2 separate regions of the Homo sapiens genome follow, and region 1 is linked to region 2. Evidence: promoter capture Hi-C in 16 types of primary human blood cells and fetal thymus (Javierre and others, 2016). All regions are on one chromosome and are shown on one strand. Each heading gives the region's core, a stretch centred on a gene start or on the middle of the fragment in contact. The rest is flanking DNA. Distances are from core to core; before and after follow the strand shown. Region 1 has its middle 4.3 kb from the start of CCDC120. Region 2 holds the start of KCND1 (potassium voltage-gated channel subfamily D member 1).

Region 1 (7,704 bases), core at 5,084-7,583, 85 kb after region 2:
CCCGTCTTTACTAAAAATACAAAATTAGCCGGGCGTGGTGACACATGCCTGTAATCCCAGCTACTCGTGGGGCTGAGGCAGGAGAATCGCTTGAACCCAGGAGGCGAAGGTTGCAGTGAGCAGAGATCTCACCATTGCACTCCAGCCTGGGCAACAACAGCCAAACTGCATCTCCAAAAAAAAAAAAAAAAAAAAAAAAAGACAAGGTTGGGCATGGCGGTCAGTGAAGAGTGGTTTGAGGTTACAGTCTGGGTCTGCAGTTCTGGGACCAAAGGAAGGTAGTTAGTGGGTAGAGTCATGGCTGGGGCTGTTGGAAGGGGAATTTTAGGGGTGGGGTTTGGAATTGTTGGAGAGTAGTTTAGTTAGGTTTGGGTATTACTGAAAAGGCATTTTGGGGATATTCTTGGGAGTTGATAAAGGGCAGTTTGAGGATGTAGAGCAGACTGCTGGAAGGTGCTTTAGGGGTGAAGATGAGGCTCGGGAGGGAAGTTTAGTGATGATATTTGGGGATTATAGAGTGGTCTGGGGTACAGTTGAGGGCTGGTAGGTATGGTCCAGTGTGCAGTTTGGGGGTCTGTTTTGAAGTCTGGATGTCAGAGGGGTGTTTTGAGTTGTGGTTGAGGAGCTATTGGTGGGTAATTTGGAGAGAAGTTAAAGATCATTGGATAGACTACTGTTCAGCAATAAAAGGAACAAACCACTGTTACATGCTACCACACGGATGAACCTCAAAAACATCAAGCTAAATGAAAGATGTGAGACACAAAAAATCCACATATTGCATTTTTATGAAATGTCCAAGAAAGGCAAATTTATAGAGACAGAAAGTAGATTTGTGGTTGCCTATGGTTGGGAATGGGAATGGCATTCAGTCATGAGGGATTTTTTTGGGGTAATGGAAATGCTCTAAAACTGGGCTATAGCGATTGTTGCACACTTTGGTAAATATTTTTTTCTTTTTTTTTTCTTTTCTTTTTTTTTTTTTTTGAGACAGAGTCTTGCTCTGTCGCCCAGGCTGGAGTGCAGTGGCATGATCTCAGCTCACTGCAACCTCCGCCTTCCAGGTTCAAGCTATTCTCCTGCCTCAGCCCCCTGAGTAGCTGGGATTACAGGTGCCTGCCACCACGCCTGGCTAATTTTTGTATTTTTAGTAGAGATGGGGTTTCACCATGTTGGCCAGGCTGGTCCTGAACTCCTGACCTCAGGTGATCTGCCCACCTTGGCCTCTCAAAGTGCTAGGATTACAAGTGTGAGCCACTGTGCCTCACTTAGGTAAATTTACTAAAGTTGTTGCATTGCACACTTAATCGTGGATGACTTTTATGGTACATAATTATCATTATTATTTTTTGAGATGGAGTCTCACTCTGTTGCCCAGGTTAGAGTGCAGTGGCACTATCTTGGCTCACTGCAACCTCCACCTCCTGGGTTTAAGCGATTCTCCTGCCTCAGCCTCCTGAGTAGCTGGGATTACAGGTGTGAGCCATCATGCCCAGCTACTTTTTTGTATTTTTAGTAGAGACGGGGTTTCACCATGTTGGCCAGGCTGGTCTTGAACTCTTGGCCTCAAGTGATCCACTCGCCTTGGCCTCCCAAAGTGCCGGGATTACAAGTGTGAGCCACTGTTCCCGGCCTGGTACGTAAATTATATCCCGGTTAAGTTGTTTTAAGAAAAAAATCACTGAGAGTGCTTTGTAATTTAGGTCACTTAAGTATGATCCAGGGTGCAAGTAAGTCTTTGGAGGGCTTAGGGGACACATTTGGGGCCACTGGAGTATGATTTGGGAGCCCAATTGGGTAACTACAGCAGGATGGTTGGTGGCTATTCGGAGGTACAGTTGAGGACTGTTGGAGAGTGTTTGAGGTGCAGTTTGGGTCAGTGGAGTGTGGGTTAGAGGTGTAGATGGTGCTGGAGGGTGGCTTGAAATGCAGTTGAAAGACCACAGAAAGTATAGTTGGGTTATATGGCACAGTGATAGGGGCTGTTGGAAGGTAATTTTGTGGGGATACGAGGGGAGGTCAATGAAAGGTGGCTGGGTAAGAGGGGTCCATGGAACATGGTTTGGAGGTAGTGTGGGTGACTGTTGGAATTATTTTGTGGTGCAGGTGAGGCCCACGTTGAGGGTAATTAGGAATGTTTGGGCTGGTGTTGGGGGCTCCTGGAGAGCCATTTTGGGTCAATGGAGTATGGTTTGGAGGGTACATGGAGAGGAGTTTGGGGTCAATGGAGGGTGTTACGGGTGCACATTGGAAGTAGATAGCAGGTGATTTGGACATGCTGTTTGGAGGGTAATGGTTTCAGGGCTGATTGCAGATGGTTTGATGGAGCAAACTGGGGGTAGTGTAAGGTAGTTTACTGCCACAGCTTGGGTGTCCATAGAGGGTGGACTGGAGGTACCGCTTGGAATCAACAGACAGTAGTTTGGGGATATAATTTGGAGGATAATGGAGGTTGGTTTGGAGTGCATTTGAGGAACAACAGGGAGGGTAGCTGGGGTTTACAGGTGTGGGGAGAGCTTACAGAGAGCAGCTTGGGGTACTGCTTGAGGGTCCCTGGGGGACGACTTGGGGTGAGGGGCGCCAGTAGGCTCCCTGAGGGGCGTGGCTTCGGCGAGGGAGGGCTCCGCCGCCCTCGAGAAAGCGTGTGCGCACGCGCTCCCAGCTTGTTCGCTCCTGGCGCTCCCAGGGCAAGAAAAATCGAAGACCCGAGCCGGCGCTTGCGCACTTAGTCTCCGCCACTGCTGTGGTCTCGTGCCCCGCCCCCCGGTCCCCCCACCCTCTAGGCTAGGCTGAGCGGCGGAGGTGGCCGTGCCGCTGGAAGCGGACAGACCCGAGTTAGAGGTGGGGGCGGGGGTCCATCGCCCGCGGCCGGGCCGGCGCTCCCCTCCTACCCTCCCCGCGACCCCCGTCTGGCCCCCACGGCTAACGGTAGCGCAGCCGAACACGGCCCACGGGCAGGGCGCCGAAGAGGAGCAGGCGCGCGCCCGGGGACGAGCAGGGCGCAGTGAGGGAGGGGCGCGTCCACTGCCCCGGCCGGCCGACCGACACCGACCCCGCCTACTGCGGCGCGGGGACCCTTGGTGAGTAACCAGCCCCGCCTGCGGAGGAAGGGAGGGGACAGGGTGGGGTGAAGGCCCGGAAACGCCGACGGGGCGTACCTGCGCGCGCACCCGCGACCTCTGACCCCGTGGCCTCAGCCCTGACCCCTTACGACCTGACTACATCTTTTTTAAACCTCAACCCCTGCTGGCCTTGGCCTCAGGACCTTCCATCCGAGCCCTGACCTAACCATATTCTGGCCTGGTATGGTCCTCAACCCCTGTTTTGTCCCCCTAAATCCAGTCCTGACCCCAAACCCCATCCAGTTATGTCCTGGGGATCTTTGACCTGACCCTGATCCTTGCCTGACCCCGTCTCATCTCTGAAACATCTTGCCCTATCCTAATGCCCAACACTGACCCCAGTTTCTGTCCTGACGCTTGACCTGTCTGTTCCCTAAACTCTTATCCAGTCTCCAAACCTCTTCCAGTCATGTCCTGTCCCCCTAACCACAATCTGGTGTAGTTCTGTCCTGATTCCTGCCCTCTAACTTCTGTCCTTTCTCTGCACCCTATGTGATATCCTCTCCTATATACTCGTGATCTGCATCCTGGCTCACCACCTTCGTCTCCTGCCTTGTCCCTGCCCCTGACTCTGCCCCGTTTTTCCCTCTTTTCTTGTCCCATCACCATACTCATTCCTATCCTCATTGTGTCCTGGTCTTTTCCTGTTCCTGACCTCCATCCTGAACCTGCCCTTTTCCCTGTCCCCTCCTTTGACCACTGGCTTAGCCTTTCCTAGTCATGTCTTCTGACTGCTGTTCTATGTTAATCCTGACCCCTGCCCTGCTGTTTTGTCTCTTTCTTGTACTTTTTCTCTGACCCTTGTCCTGAACCCCACCTTATCCCATCCCCTGGCCAGTGTTCTGGCTCATTCCCCATCCTGCCTCTTGACCTCCATCCTGTGATAACTCTGGCTCTATCTTGTCCCCTACACTCCTTCCTGTTCTGTCCCTTCCCATCCCAGCCCCAGGGTGTTCTTCCCCTTACCATGCCCCTCCACCCTGTTCAGATCTTCTTCCTTCCTAATATCCACTTGCCATCCCTTCTGAGCCGAGGACAGGGGTCCCATTATACTGTGCCCGGAACTTGAAGATTCTGCTGTTCCCAGGACCTCCGAAGTACATCCCAAATGCTTCTCTTAGCAAGAGCAAGCAGCCCTATGTGCCCTGCGTGGCTGATGGGGGTTTTTGTGTGTGATCTCCCCTATCCCCACCCTAGTGATCTTACATAGAGCTTACATTTCTCTTCCTGCCCCAGGAGGGCATGCAACTGTTCCTACGCCCCTGCCCTCTGCAAGTGTGAAAGAATACCCTAAATTATTCAGTGACTCTCTGGGAGTCTGAGAGGTCTGGGTCATGTTTCCAGTCTTGCTGTGTTGGGGACTGCCTCATGTTGGGGGGAAGAGTTAAGAAAATATGAAGAGATGGGGGACCCAGGGGTATGTATGAATCTTCTAGGCCATGTTTGATTCTGGGTGCATGATCCCTGCTTTCCTGGACTGAAAAAGAAGAAGTCTATTCTAGGCCAAGGCTTCGGGACTTGGTATAGAGGAGGGATGGGGTCAAGGATTCATCCTCCTTCTCTCAGCAGTAAGCAATAAAAATCTTGGTGCTAAGTCCACTCCACCTCTGTGGGGCTTGTCTTGGGGGAGAAGGCCAGGCAGTCACTGGATTTAAGAATCAGGCCTATCCAGTGGTAACAGTAACAACAATAATGCAGTGTTCCCCTCATTGTCCGAATCTCCTTGATTCTGAGGATGATGGGGAGAACTTGGATAGCTAGAGGGTAATGTGTTACTCAATTGGGTTTTGTTCCTGCATTTCTCATAGAGACTAGTGAGTTTGAATAACAAGATGCCAGACCTATCTTATCCTGAAAATCTATCCAAACCTATTGATAACAAAACAAGCATTCCTCACTTTCCCAATCTATTTGGTACCTGAATTCTGAGAGGGAGAGTGCCCGAAGTTCAGACAGTGAAACCTACCAAGTTATTTGAAGGTATTTTGTTTTCACATCTTACATAGTGAGTAGGGAAAATTGAGATAATGAAGAATAATGACTAACTAAAAAATGTATCCAAATCTATGAACTTTCCTGAGCTCCAGGGACAAGAGTTGGGATAGTGAGGGTACCCTGTTATGTAAATGGTTCCTGCATTTTGTTTGGAGGGTAAGGAAAGTTCAAGAATGAGGGATACCAGTCGTATCTCAAAAATGTTTCTGAATCCATTCAGTTCTTGCATTTGGATGGTGAGAGTTCAGACAATTTCTCTGAATGTATTTGGTTCCTGCATTTTTGATGTTGAGAAAGGAGAGGTTGGATCATGAGGGAAACAGCTCTGTTTCAAATATGTCTCATTTGGTGAGCAGGGAGGGTACCGTGTCTAGATAGCAAGTGGGATTTGGAAGCTGAGGGATACCAGTTCTGTCTCAAAAATGCATCTGAGGCCGGGCGCGGTGGCTCACGCCTGTAATCCCAGCACTTTGGGAGGCTGAGGCGGGTGGATCACGAGGTCAGGAGTTCGAGCCCACCCTGGCCAAGATGGTGAAACCCCGTCTCTACTAAAAATACAAAAATTAGCTGGGTGTGGTGGCACGCACCTGTAATCCCAGCTACTCGGGAGGCTGAAGCAGGGAACTGCTTGAACCCGGGTGGTGGAGGTTGCAGTGAGCCGAGATCATGCCACTGCACTCCAGCCTGGGTGACAGGGTGAGACTCCGTCTCAAAAAAAAAAAAAAAAAAAAAAAATTGCGTCTGAATACATTTAGTCTCTGATTTTGGATAGCAAGAGTTCAGACAAGTTATCTGAGGAAAAACAACTGTTTCAAATGTATCAAGTGAGACTGAAGGACACCAGCTCTGTCTGGAAAAAATGTGTCTGAATGTATCTACTTGATTCCTGACTTCCTGTGGGGAAGAATACTTGTAACTGTGACAGCCAACATACACTGAGCTCTTACCAGGCACTGTTCTGCACAAGCTTTAAATGTATTAACTGATTTAATGCTCACAATAGCCCCGTGAGGTACATACTGTTATCATCGTCCCCAATTGACAGAGAGGCACAGAGAGGTTAAGTGACTTGTTCAAGCAGTCACACAGCTAGTAAGTGGCAGAGCTGGGTTGAATCCCAGACTCACCATTTACTAGTGACAGCAGGGTCACGTGAGGCCCAGGGCCCAGCTGGGGTAGGGCTTAGAGGTTGGGTCCTCTTCGAGGCTATTAAAAGTCATGGACCAGGGCAATGATGTGTGTTAGTGACTGCCCCATTTGTCTGCCTGGCCCAGGAGGTCCAGTTACCTGCTCTCCCCCAGTTACCCCCACAACAGCCCACCTCTGTGTGAGTGTATTAATTGTTGTTAGTAAGAGTCATTAATGACATGGTGTGTTTCCTTGCACTTTGAAATGCCTTTCAAAGTTATTTGGGGCCTCCATTGTCTCTGTAACCACCTTTTACCCATTTTACAGATGAGGAGACCTAAGCTTTGAGACTCAATCTACATTGCCAGCCAGATTCTCATCCCTCTTGGCTCTGATTTTATTACTGTCTCACTTCCCAACATCTTTGGTGGCCCATAAGAGGTGGGAGAGGCTGTGGCCGAGAGGACACTCCCCAATGCCCACCTTACCACTGCCCGCCCCAGGCAGTGAAGTGGGGAGGGCGATGAAAGGGGCCTTTGTGTTCCATGCTGGAAATCTCACACCCAGGAAGAAAGGTGGGCAGGGATGGCGGGAGGCCTTAATAGTATGAGTCTGGGGCATTGCTGATTCAGAGTGAGCTCCTCTCTAGGCTCAGCCCATCTGCAGCTTTTCTCACTTCAGGTCATGGTGTGGGCTGCTGCAGGGGTCTGGGTAGGGCTTGGGCCCTGGGTCACAGAGCAGATGGTCCTGAATGGAGCACAGGATGTGTGCTGTGTGCCGGGACTGGCCCAGAGCTCAGGTGGTAGTGGTGATGGTGGTGGTGGTGATGGTGGTGGTGGTGGGCGGGGTGAGGGGAGGCAGGGACAGTACGTCGTAAGGACTCAAAGCTCTCATTTCCTTCTCTGGCATGAAGCCTGACTCTCTGAAGAAGAGAGACCCAGCATGGATGTGAAGAAGCATGAGCCCCCTTCCCTACTTCTCCTTCCCACTTGCAGGAGTAGCCTCTGTCTGCCTCCCAGCCAGGACCCAGCCCCCGGAAATTCTGATTTCACCTGCTCTTCTGCCACTGTGATCTGAATCAGGCCTCTTCACCTTTCCAGGCCTCAGCTTCTGCATCTATAAAATGGCTGTGAGGAGGCTGGGTCTGTGCCATCCTGCTACATTTGTAGGAACCAAGAGGGATCAAAACCCATAAGTGTTTTGTAGGGTGTAAGTTGTGCTTGATTTATTGAGATTATTTCTTCTGGAGCCACAGAAGGATCTTGAGACCTGACCTCTCCTTAGAAAGGTTGACTTCCTCTGTCCCCAACTTGGGAAACTATTATTCCCCAGTGAGGGTGGGAATTGCCCCAAGGCCTTCTACCACTGCCTTGCCCTGGGAGGAAAGGGTAGGGGCCTCAGAATGTGATGCTTAGTGCCAAGACACAAAAACTCAGTTTACACCCGAAGCCTCCCATGT
Region 2 (7,032 bases), core at 2,410-4,909:
GCACCAACTGTATACCCAATCCCAGTGATGGAAACTTAGAGAAGGATCACAGCATCTGCCCTAGACAGTATCTTTGGAAAGCTCATGAGTTCGATGATTCCATTTGATACTTTTATCCCAACTCTGTTTCTTCTGCAGGGATCGACAAAAAAATAATAATAATAAAAATGCTGAAAACATCTTGTTCTGGGAAACATCAAGGAATCACAAAGGCTCAGAAGTAGTGCCCCACACAGCAGACAATTCTAGAAGGTTGGGAGACATGGGTCCCCAAAACAGAAAAAGGTGCTAGAAAGCCAACACCTATGTATCCTGCACCAGAAACATTCAGAGAACTTTCACAACTATGATGTCATTGAATCCTCTCTAGATGATGAAGGGATCAGCATTTCCCATTTTACAGAGGGGAAAACTGAGGCCATGAGAAAACGACATCAACAGAAAGAGAGCAGCTAAGACAATCCTTGAACCCAAGTCTCCTGACCTAGAAAATCAAGGCATTGTCAGAGCTGGGAGGGATCTGAAGAATTAAGTCCAGCTCCCTCAGTTTGTACAGATGAGCAAACTGAAGCTCAAAAAGAGAAAGAGGCCAGGCGCGGTGGCTCACACCTGTAATCCCGGCACTTTGGGCGGCCAAGGCGGGCGGATCACCTGAGGTCAGGAGTTTGAGACCAGCCTGGCCAACGCGGTGAAACCCCGTCTCTACTAAAAATACAAAAATTAGCTGGGCATGGTGGCGTGTACCTGTAATCCCAGCTACTTGGGAGTCTGAGGCTGGAGAATCACTTGAACCCAGGAAGCAGAGGTTGTAGTGAGCTGAGATCTTGCCACTGTACTCCAGCCTGGGCGACAGAGTAAGACTCCATTTAAAAAGAAAGAAAGAAAGAGATCATTCCTTTAAACTTCCTAATTTTACAGAAAGGGTGAGTGTAATCGGGCAGCCCCCAACGCAGAGTCCACACTCACCCAAGCGTGGTCATGGTGACAATGGTATACCAGAAGGCCGCAGGGATGCTTGTAAAGTTGGTCTTGTTTGTGCCCTTCTCAGCATAAAACATGACAGTGGCAAAGATGATGATGGCCATGGTTAGGGAAAAGAGGAGAAAGCCCAGCTCAGAGGCACAGCTCTTGAGTGTGTAGCCCAGAATCCTCAAGCCCTGTGAGTGCCTGGAGAACTTGAAGATGCGAAACACCCGGAACACACGCAGGGTGACAAAGGCGCCAGAGACATCGTCGTTCTTGGGCACCAAAAGCCCAATGTAGTAGGGCAGGATGGCCACCACGTCGATGAGGCTCATGACACTCCGCAGGAAGCGGCAACGGCTGGGGGCGGCAAACAGCCGCAGGAGGTATTCACCTGTGAATATGAGTACACAGGCTGTGTCCATGCAGAAAAAGGCCTGTGGGAAGCGTTCGCCACAGGGCTGCTCCCTTGAGGACCTGCGTGCAGAGCCGCGGCATGGGATGGTCTCCACCACATTGGCGATGACCGACACGGCGATGAAGAAGCCGGTCACATAGTAGAAAACGAGGGCTGCGGTGCTCGTGTGTGGATTCTCGAAGGCCCGCCAGAGCCGCTGCCGCAGGGAGCTGCCTGCTGGCAGGGCTGGGCCGTCCCCGGCCTGCTCTGCCTCCTCATCCTCTGCCAGGCGCTCGGCATTCTCCTTCTTTCGGTCCCGATACTCTTCAAGGCAGCAGTCACCGACTAGCTCGGGAACCAGGCCGTAGAAAGCCAGCTCTTCGTCGAAGGCCTGGATGCACTCCTGCCGTGGGCAATGCAGCCGCCCCGTTCGGTAGAAGTTCAGCACATGGCGGAACATGTCAGGGTCGCGATCGAAGAAGTACTCGCCTGAGTCAGCATCGTAGAAGAATTCCTTCTCCGAGCTGCCCAGCAAGGTGTCTGGGTAGCGGTCCAGCGTATTCTTCCAAGTCTCAAAGCGCCGTCCGCTCACGTTCACCACCAGAACCTCATCTCCTCGAGATGCCTTCACCCCCGGTGCCGGGGGCAGGGGTTGCTGGGCCAGGGGCAGCCAGCCCACTGCTGCTGCCCGAGCAAAAGGCAGCCACGTGGCCAGGCCTGCCGCCATCGTGCCACTCCCCAAGCCCAGGGAGACTTAGTGAGGGTGGCGTTTAGGAGAATGTGGCTGTCTCCAGGATGGTGGGGGCTTGGAGACACCTTGAGCCACCCAAACAAGGAAACTGGGGGTGTCTAGAGAGGCCAAGAGGAACCAGGAGGAAGAACTAAAGAGATGGGAAGGAGTCTGGGGGACATTTACAGAACCTAGGAGGGGCCTGGGCAATGTTCTGAGGGACTGAGAAGGGCCTTGGGGACATGGAGAAGAGCAGAAAAGGGGTGTGGGGATGGGGCCAAGAAGGAGCTGAGGGAGGGTTTAGAGAGACTGAGATGATTCTAAAGGAGTCAGCCTGTGCCTGAGAGGTGTCTGGGGGCGTCTAGAGGGGCCAAGAAACACGTGGGGAATTCTCTGCACTCTCAAGAGTCTCAGGGAAGGCAGAAGAGCCTGGAATTCCTTTGCAGTGGTGGAGAGGAGACTGGGGCATCCAGAGGGGTAGAAATGGGACCAGAGGTGCTTGAAAGAGACTGAGAGTGCCTGGAAGTGGGGGTTCTAGAGGGGCTGAGACAGGTGAGGAGGGTTGTCCACACCCTCAAGACTTCTAGGGGAAGCATAAGAGGGTTAGACCCCCCTCATGGATCTGGAAAGGGAGCTGGTGCATCTTGAGGGGTGGCTGTGGATCCAGGAGGTTGTAAAGAGGCTGAAAGGTGTCTTGGGACTGCCTAGAGTTGCCAAGAATAGCCCGGGGGGGTGTCTATACTCTACAGGAGTTCTGGGGAAGAAAGGAGAGGCCAGAGCCTCCTAGTAGGGCTGGAGAGGGGAAGGGGTTATCTAAAGGGGTAGACAGGGGGCTGGGTTATTTTTTGAGAGGCTGAGAGTTATCTGGGGGAGGTGGGTATCTAGACGGGCCAACAAAGCCTGGTCGACACTCTCAGGAGTTCTACAGGGAGGAAAAAGGGGCCTGGGGAATTCCAAGGGCCGGGACTCAAATGTTAGGAAGTTGGGCACAATCCCAGAGCACCCAGGGGATCTATGAAGACTAAATAAGAGGAAGGGGGTTAACCCCAAAATGGGATTAAGAGGGGGGTGGGGTGTTGAAAGGGAGTTGGGTGTGTCTCCAGGGAGGGGGGCTCCTGGGCTTTGCAGGAAGCTGGCAGGAGACGCCGGGAGAAGGCTGGGTCCCACCGTTGGGGGCAGGTCTGGGGAAACCACACCCCGAGGGGCTGGCGGTGTGTACTGGGCAGTGGCAGTAGCAGCAGCGGCAGCAGGAGGAAGAGAAGCAACCACAGCCAGGCATAGGAGAGAAGGTGGCATAGGCAGGGGGAGGGTGCGGGGTCCCTGGAAGGAGGCCTGGGAAGGGCAAGGTCCAGTGGGACCCCTGGGGACTATCCCAGGATGGGTTAGGGCGTGGGGGCTGGACCAGGGAAGGATGAGGACAGCGCTAGTGGTGGTCCCCCTCCCCCTCTCTCTCGGGGCGTCCTCACCTGTGTCCCCGCTGCAGGAGCAGCAACAGCGGTGGGGCTGGGGGTACCAAACACCCGAGCTCCTGGCCCCCTCTGCAGAGCTGCCTGAGTTCTCCTCCTCCTCTGGCTCTCTCTCCCCGCCCCTCTGAGCTTGCCGGGAGATGGAGAGGCAGGGAGGGGCCTCGTGGCTCCCTGAGCCCCCTCCCCTAGGACAGCCAGAGAGGGACCCTGGGGAGACTCCGCCTCCTACAAAGCTGGTTGGGCCTCAGTCGCGTCATCTGGAAAATGGGGGTGGCAGGGAACTTCGCCAATTCTCTCCACCTCCTTCCTGGACTCCCCTCTCTTCCTGCCCAGCTCCTACCCGCTCTGCCCCCAGGGGCCCCCACCCCCACTCGCCTGAATCAGCAGCACTTAGCAGATCCGATCGATGGGAAGGCGTCTGTTAATGGCCCCAGAGCGGAGTGCCACAGGGAATGATGCAGCGCTGTCCCCTCCCTGCCCCCCAGACTGTGGAAAGGCAGGAGAGCCAGGAGTCGGGGGTAATTGCTGGGGAGTGTTTCTCTAGATGGCCAAGCTTCCGAAGCCGCCCCCTTGAGGGGCGCAGCATGGGTTACAGCCCCAGCTCTAAGACTTCGGCTGTGGGATTGGAGCACGGGACTTCCTGTTTTTAGATATGAAATGAGGGTAAAGGGAATGTAGAGGGGGACAATCCAGGTCCCACCCCCCTACCATCTCAGGCAGGCCCCACTCCGAGGGGGTAGTCTCTCTTATCTGTCCATATCCAGTGGCCTCAAATCACACCTCCTCCGCTAGAGGGCTCTGCTTCTGGATGGCAGGAGCACTGATTATGGAATGCCTCTGGCTGGCTATGGGTGGGTTCAAACCCCAGCTTTGCCACTGACTTGCTGCATCCTTGAGCAAGTGACTTGCATTGTTTCCTCAGTTGTCAGATGGAGAGACTTATCCCAACTTGATAGCGTCATTTGGAGCATTACATGATGTGAAAGGTGATAGCACTGGACACAGCTCACACCAGGGATGCTTAATCTTAATTAAAGGAGTGTGATGACAGGGGCACTGTAATGCAGGGCCAGGCCTAGCCTTTCACCCAAGATTTACCCACCCGTGTAAACTTCCAATTGCCCATTTGGCACACTCCTGATTTGTCCATTTCTACATCCATTCCTCCACCTACCCATCCACCCATTCTCCCACCCACACAATCAATTCCTCTATCCATCCCTCCACCCACCCGTCCACTTAGTCGTTAATCTACCCACCCACTCATTCATCCATTTGTAAGTTCACCCCATTTGGCTGTTTGCCAATCTATCTGTATGTATCCATCCTCTGCCCATCTCTTCCCACCCGGAACACATGCAGGGTGACATCCTCTGCCCATCTCTGTCCATACATAGCTCCACTTGTCATTTCTTCTCCCACTCTTTACCCTTCCCATTCATTAGCTCATCTACCCATCCATCCATTCCCCCAACCATTGGTCCATTTACTCCTAACCTGTCCATAAACCCATCCATCCACCTGTCTACCTAAATCATCCACCCATTTGTCCATAGACCTATTATCCATCTGTCCATTTACATCTCTACTATCCATCCTCTATCCACCTACCAATCTATCTACCCATTTATTCATCTAACCACCTATCCATCCATCCATTTATTTCCCAATCTATCCATCATCAGTCCATGCAACCGTTCACTTATACATCCATCGGTCCATCCAACCACTTATCCATCCTCCCATCTGTCTACTCATCTATACCCACAATCCCATACATGTCTACCCATGTACATATCTGCAGGTATTTCAGCTCCACTCAGTTTGAGGGGCTGGTCAGCAGTAAATGGAGACAGGCTGGATGAGGGTGGGGAAAAGAGAGTAACGTTGCAGCCAGAGACCTCTCTCCCTATTCCAATGGTGTAAACCTCCCCGCCCCCAGCATATTCCTCCTGGTTGAAAAGAACGAGACGAGACAGTCAGTGGGTGGGCCCGTCTGGCCAGATGGTATTTTGGCTGCATAGCCTTTACACACACACACACACACGTGTTGCTAGAACGCTGAACATGGACCACACACCCACCCAGCATCCCCAATCCCAAATGCAGAGTAGCCAGGCTCCAGACATAAATTAAAAAATAAAATAAAATAAAATAAAAAGAGTTGGTCTCTGGGAAGGAGAGCTCATGCAGAGATGAAGACAGAAGCCCTTGGGAGCCAGGACCAAGAAGAAGGAGAAATCCCTGCCCCTTCCCTCAGGATCCCCACTCCCTGGTGGCCTCTGCCCTAAGACAGGATCATTAACACTAACCATCAGGCCTCTAGCCCCTTTAATGTCCAGTCTCCCAAGCTATTTGATTTTGGCTCCAGCCCTCATTTTTCCACCACAGCCCAAGGGAATAGCATCCTAGGGGGTAGGAAGGGGAGGAGGTGGGTGCAGCCTGCAGGTCTTTAGCTGGTTTCTCCTGGCTCTAGGTCTGGGTCAGGAGGCCCCACGCACTCCTTGCTGAGCCGCACAATTTCCTGGGACAGAACTTCCATATCCTAAGAAACAAATGAACCATCAGGGGCCAGAGAAGGGGACAGGCTGCTCCCTTGCCAAACGTAGGGTATCATCTGTGATTTCCCTCACACCCTTTCATTAATCAATGCTCAGCTGTGTCTGGCCTGGGATGAGAAGGTACTTGGAGAAGCTCACAGCACCCCCAACAGTGGGCAGGGCTCAGAAAAGTCATGAGGATGGGTGGGGAGCTACAGATAATGGGAGTGGGATGCCTCCTGTGGCATGGTGCTGCTGCAGGATACACCACCACTCTGGCCACCTGCTCTTCTAAGTGTGAGCTTGCTTCTCAAAGGCAGGAGCTGGGTCTGACCCCTTTCTAACTCTCAGAGATGGGGAAAGTCCTTGGGTGGCAGTTTGGGCAGAAAGATGTGTGTGTGGACCCATGGGCATGGGGGATCTATGGTAGACAAATTGGTGGACGAATGAATTGTCCAGAGGACAGATGGAGATCAACAGGTGGGCAGGCAGGTAACTGGGTGGGTGAAAGGTAACACAAGGGGCAATTGATGAGTAGATAAGAGAATGATATGTCAAGAAATGGGTGGCAGGACATGGGGTAGACAATGAGATAAGTAAGTAGTAGATTGGGTAGATGGACAGATGGGCAAATGGTTGGGTGAATGTGTAGATAAATGGATGAGCGGGTACATGGAAGGAATGAATGGATAATAAGTTGATGAGAGGGTGGAAGATGAGAGCATGATGGAGTAGTTGATGAGTGGGTAGGAGGATAGCTGGGAGGACAGGCTGGGTGGGTGGGCAAGGGGACTGGCAGATGACCCAGGGGCTATGTGGCTGGGTAGGCAGGTGGCTGGGTGAACAGATGGGTAGGCTGGCAGGCCACACTTGCCTTGTGCAAGTGCATATTCTTGGTGAGCTGCTCCTCCAGCATGTTCTGCAGCTTCTTGTTCA

Evidence for each region. The method cuts DNA at HindIII sites, captures the fragments that hold promoters and counts their contacts. A CHiCAGO score of 5 or more calls a contact.
Region 1: a contact is called between a fragment that was not itself captured here and the fragment with the promoter of KCND1 in region 2, in 1 of 17 cell types (M2 macrophages). The highest score is 5.3, in M2 macrophages.

The regions. Positions count from the first base shown.
Region 1 is chrX:49,050,798-49,058,501 of GRCh38, forward strand. It overlaps a transcript of CCDC120 not described here. Among named protein-coding and RNA genes, the nearest start is that of CCDC120, 4.3 kb to the right of the region's middle. RefSeq lists an enhancer at 2,543-2,837 and silencers at 2,759-2,838, 2,889-3,188. The HindIII fragment of the contact is 503 bases long and covers 6,083-6,585 here.
Region 2 is chrX:48,968,185-48,975,216 of GRCh38, forward strand. KCND1 (potassium voltage-gated channel subfamily D member 1) reads right to left here and starts at 3,660. Exons shown (of 6, transcript NM_004979.6): 1 at 967-3,660. The coding sequence starts at 2,087. GRIPAP1 (GRIP1 associated protein 1) reads right to left here. Exons shown (of 26, transcript NM_020137.5): 25 at 6,971-7,032; 26 at 5,539-6,101. The coding sequence ends at 6,009. The HindIII fragment of the contact is 6,364 bases long and covers 1-4,107 here.